2 separate regions of the Homo sapiens genome follow, and region 2 is linked to region 1. The links are contacts of gene promoters, found by promoter capture Hi-C in human tissues and cell types (Jung and others, 2019). All regions are on one chromosome and are shown on one strand. Each heading gives the region's core, a stretch centred on a gene start or on the middle of the fragment in contact. The rest is flanking DNA. Distances are from core to core; before and after follow the strand shown. Region 1 holds the start of PLA2G4C (phospholipase A2 group IVC). Region 2 overlaps CARD8 (caspase recruitment domain family member 8).

Evidence for each region. Contacts are between HindIII fragments. The study calls those that stand out against the background at their distance.
Region 2: a fragment that was not itself captured here is called in contact with the fragment with the promoter of PLA2G4C in region 1 in 4 of the 25 tissues and cell types used here (dorsolateral prefrontal cortex, mesenchymal stem cells, mesendoderm cells and 1 more).

The regions. Positions count from the first base shown.
Region 1 is chr19:48,109,391-48,112,090 of GRCh38, reverse strand. PLA2G4C (phospholipase A2 group IVC) reads left to right here and starts at 1,274. Exons shown (of 17, transcript NM_003706.3): 1 at 1,274-1,604. RefSeq lists an enhancer at 1,299-1,458. The HindIII fragment of the contact is 42,556 bases long and covers 1-2,700 here.
Region 2 is chr19:48,243,078-48,245,777 of GRCh38, reverse strand. The region is part of intron 3 of CARD8 (caspase recruitment domain family member 8); the gene reads left to right. Among named protein-coding and RNA genes, the nearest start is that of CARD8-AS1, 11 kb to the left of the region's middle. The HindIII fragment of the contact is 5,679 bases long and covers 1-2,700 here.

The DNA of each region.
Region 1 (2,700 bases), core at 25-2,524:
GCGATGGTTGGAGTTGCGGGCACTGAAGAGGTGAGCCTGGCGTTAGGGGGAGCAGGGGAGACCATCTTCCCCCTGGTGAAATCCTGTTCTAAAATTGGTGATACTCCTGCCTTGGCCTCCCAAAGTGCTAGGATTATGGCCTCATATCTATTTTTAAAAAATAAGAATTCAAGCTGGGTGCGGTGGCTCGCAACTGTAATCCCAGCACTTTGGGAAGCCGAGGCAGGTGGATCACTTGAGTTCAGCAGTTCGAGCCAGCCTGGCCAACATGGTGAAACCCTGTCTCTACTAAAAATACAAAAATAATTAGCCGGGCGTGGTGGCAGATGCCTATGTTCCCAGCTACTCGGGAGGCTGAGGTAGGAGAATCGCTTGAACCCAGGAGACGGAGGTTGCAGTGAGCCGAGATTGCACCACTGCACACCAGCCTGGGCGACAAAGAGTAAGACTCCATCTCAAAAAAAAAAAAAAAAAATTCAAAACCCATCGAGTTGGGATGACGCTTAGTGCTGGGCTTCAGGAAGAGTAGGCAGGAGGGTAGTATGGGAGGTTTCTAGGAGCCACTCTTGGAAGCGGTGCTCCCCACAGATGCCCGATTGCACTGACTGGAACTCGGTCACATGACCACATAACTCGCTCACATGACCACACCTAGCTGCAAAGGTGCTGGGAAATGTGGTACCCTGTTGGGAGGCCACTTCTGGGCTTCAAACCTTCACTGTGAATGGAGCTCACAGGTTTTCTAAAAATGGACATTAAATGAACCAGAGTTGGCCCTAAGGATCTGGCTCACTGCAACCTCCACCTCCCAGGATGAAGCACCTGCCTCAGCCTCCCGAGTAGTAGCTGGGATTACAGGCACACGCCACCATACCGAGCTAATTTTTGTATTTTTAGTAGAGAAGGTGTTTCACCATGTTGGCCAGGCTGGTCTCGAACTCCTGACTTCACATGATCCGCCTGCCTCAGCCTCCCAAAGTGCTAGGATTACAGGCGTAAGCCACCACGCCTGGCCTCAATATTTCTTTTTCTGGGTATTTGAGTATGATATTATATATGATGGTTATTAGACAGCCAGATGCATAGGAGGATTAGCTAATCTGTTTTGAGGAATACTTATCTCCAATATAGTTATATAACGACAACATTCTTTTTTTGAATACTGGTCTCGGGTGCCTAATGACAGAAGGGTGACATCACTAAGGAAGCCTGGAAAGTCCCAGCCCTCCACGTGATCCCACGGATGAAAATAGCTCCGGGTGAGCTCTGGAACAGCTGAAAAAGCTGGAGCAACCAAGCAGGGCCTACAAGCCGAGGAGGGCTGTTTAAAGGCGCAGGGGCCATTTTACCTCCAGGTTGGCCCTGCTCAGGACCAGGAGGAAACACCTCCAGCCCGCGACCTCCTCCCACAGGGGGAAAAGGAAAGCAGGAGGACCACAGAAGCTTTGGCACCGAGGATCCCCGCAGTCTTCACCCGCGGAGATTCCGGCTGAAGGAGCTGTCCAGCGACTACACCGCTAAGCGCAGGGAGCCCAAGCCTCCGCACCGGATTCCGGAGCACAAGCTCCACCGCGCATGCGCACACGCCCCAGACCCAGGCTCAGGCAAGCCGTGGGGGCAGGGAGGGCTGTTTCATCCCGCTGGGGCGGCCATAACCAAGTACCAGGGATTGGGTGCAATTAAATAACAGGATTTCTTTTTCTTTTTTATTTTATTTTATTTTATTTATTTATTTATTTTTTTTTGAGACAGCATCTCGCTCTGTCGCCTAGGCTGGAGTGCAGTGACGCGATCTCGGCTCACGGCAAGCTCCGCCTCCGGGGTTCAAGCGATTCTCCTGCCTCAACCTCCCGAGTAGCTGGGATTACAGGCGCACACCACCACACCCGGCTAATTTTTGTATTTTTAGTAGAGATGGGGTTTCACCATGTTGGCCAGGCTGGTCTCAAACTCCTGAACTCGTGATCCACCCCACTCGGCCTTCCAAAGTGCTGGGATTACAGGCGTGAGCCACCGCGCCCGGCTAGGAATTTATTTTCTAACACTTCTGGAAGCTAGAAGTCCAAGATCAAGGTGTTGGCAGGGTTGGTTTCTCCTGAAGCCTCTTGCAGAGGCCCTAATCTCTCCTTATAAAACCAATCAGGCTGGGCGCGGTGGCTCACGCCTGTAATCCCAGCCCTTTGGGAAGACGAGGCGGGCGGATCCTGAGGTCAGGAGATCGAGATCATCCTGGCTAACACAGTGAAACCCCGTCTCAACTAAAAATACAAAAAATTAGCTGGGCGTGGTGGCGGGCGCCTGTAGTCCCAGCTACTCCGGAGGCTGAGGCAGGAGAATGGCGTGAGCCCGGAAGGCGGAGCTTGCAGTGAGCCGAGACTGCGCCACTGCACTCCAGCCTAGGGCACAAAGCGAGACTCCATCTCAAAAAAAAATAAAATAAAATAAACCAATCAAACCAAATTCCAGGCCACCCTCAGGACCCCACTTTAACTTAGTCACCCCTTTAAGAGCCTATGTCTGGCCGAGTGCGATGACTCATGCCTATAATCCCAGCGTTTTGGGAAGCCAAGGTGGAAAGCTCTCTTGAGCCTAGGAGTTCAAGACCAGCCTGGGTGACATAACAAGACCTGATCTCTACAAAACATAAAAAATTTAGCTGGAGATGGTAGCATGTACCTGCACTTCCAGCTACTCGGGAGG
Region 2 (2,700 bases), core at 1-2,500, 130 kb before region 1:
TATATAACAATTATTTTATATATAATACAATTATATATAGCTAACATTCAGATAAGCTGGTTGAGGATTTATGTGAATCTTTGCTATTTTTCAATGTTTAAAATTATTTCAAAATAAAAGCATTATATGGGTCATGTAGTTTTTTTGTATAGTTTAGTTCTAGGTACCATAGTTGCTATTTTAATGAGTGTATTTTCTTCTTTCATGGAATTGGGATAGTCTGTTATATTAAGAAGCTATTCACTTTTGTATATTAAGATTCTTCTGGCTGGTGCGGTGGCTGACACCTGTAATCCCAGCACTTTGGGAGGCTGAGGTGGGCGGATCACCTGAGGTCAGAAGTTTGAGACCAGCCTATCCAACATGGTGAAACCCCATCTCTACTAAAAATACAAAAAAAATTAGCCAGGCATGGTGGTGCATGTCTGTAATCGCAGCTACTTGGGAGGCTAAGGCAGGAGAATCACTTGAACCCAGGATGCAGAGGTTGCAGTGAGCCGAGATTGTGCCACTTCTCTACAGCCTGAGCGACAGAGGGAGGCCCCGTCTCAAAGAAAAAAAAAGATTCTTTCTCTAACTTACTGGTTTATCTTACTTTTGTAGCTTATTTCAGGTGATTCGTTATGTTTCTCTATAGAGGAAAATAACGTGTAGTGAGTTATAGTTTAATCTCCTTCCTTTCAATCACTGTATTTGGAATTTGTCCAATATTTTGGAATAAGCTTCCGATATTTTAACTTAAATAGGGAAGGTCTTGGTATTTTCCTGACTTCAGCTGGAATGATTTCATAGTGTCCACATGAAGCACAAGGTTATCCTTTGGCCTGAGAGAGACATATTATGCCGAGAATGTGTGTAATCCTTTTTACTTAGGAATTGTGGGTGGAGTTTTTTTCCCCCCAAGAGTGATTGTTAACTTGGGTCCATCATTTTCCTTTGATTGTTCTTTATCTAAAACAAAACAAAACAAAAAACAACAACTTCCTGGTCTTCTCACCTATTTTCTTGTAGTGCCTTTAAGCAATGCTCTGGTAATATCTTTTTCTTAATTATTATGGAATGCATGGGACCGTTCCATGCCTGATTATATGCAGAATGTTCTTTCTACAAGTGTGTTTTTGTAGTATTTCTGTACTCTGTCACATTAGGGCATTTCTCTGTTTTCAAGGATCCACACCGCCTCTACCACATTTATCTCCTGCTCAGCCTCCACTCTACCTGCCCAGACCTCACAGCTCTTGTATTCAAACTCTATAGATAAATCACCGAGTATGAGGCTTTACTCACAGGAAATTACTCCTCTGGCACTTCCTGACTTCTTTATGTTTTCTCACTCTGCACTTCCTCCCTGTTCCTCCGCCATGCTTCACCCTGACTTAACACAGTTTTGTCAGCCGGTGAGAAACATTTGGATCTGTGAATTAAATCTGTCTCCTCATTATTCTGAAAATGGAGTTTTCATGGACTTTTCCGTTCACCTTATTGCTTTCATTGATACTCAGTAATAGACAAGATAAACTGTTATTTCTCATTGCCTTGTTCATTTCAGAAGTACCAGGTAGAATTTTACAATTCTTGCCTTGATACATATTCCCAGTAATTGTTGAGTGATTTAATTGTATGTTGTCTTGATATTACTTTGGTCATATATTACATTATTTCTCATTTTTGAATATCTGGATTTACATAAATTCTGTGTAATTCAGGTTTGTATTTATCCAAGTTCTCAGAAACTACAACTGCTGTAATTGATCATAACTCTCCTAATACAGGTGTAACTAAAGTGAGAGATGCTTTTTGACTCATGAAAAAAAGAAGACTGTAGACCAAGTCTCAATAACTTCTACTTAATCCTATAGAAAGTTAGCCAAGATAATGTACACCTTCTTTAAGATTCTTATAAGGAAAAAATTCCATTTCGTTTCTTGAAATGAGGTATTGCTTTGTCGCCCAGACTGGAATGCAGCGGCGCCATCATAGCTCACTGCGACCTTAATCTCCTGGGATCAAGGGATCCTGTCACTTCAGCCTCCTGAGTAGCTGGGACTACAGGCACAAACCACTGTGCCTGGCTTCATGAGAAAAAATTAAATATATAATGGTACTAGGTAAAATAATACTAAATAAGAAGTAATTTGAATGCATACTATATTAACTCTGGAATAACGATACTTAAGTAAAAGAAAAGTGTTCGTTATAACAAAGGAAAAGCTTGTAGTTCAGAGGATAGCTAAATTAAATTTTTCGCAGGCTGTGAGAAGCATAATAATTAAACATGAATAAATTAAATATGCAGATTTTAATATTTTTATTGAAAATTGGATAGAAATATTTGTTTAGTTGGAACCTGTGAGTGATTATTATGCATATAAATAGACATTCAGTTATTGCAGATAAATTCAGTGGTGGTAAAATAAAACATTTGTATAGGGTTTTGGAATTCAAATCTTTAGATTATTTCTCTGGGCCAGGGGCAATGGCTCACGTCTGTAATCCCAGCACTTTGAGAGGCTGAGGCGGGAGGATCACCAGGTCAGGAGATCGAGACCATCCTGGCTAACACGGTGAAACCCCGTCTCTACTAAAAATACAAAAAAATTAGCCAGGCGTCATGGCTCACGCATGTAGTCCCAGCTGCTCAGGAGGCTGAGGCAGGAAAATCGCTTGAACCTGGGAGGTGGAGCAGCCTGGTGACTAATT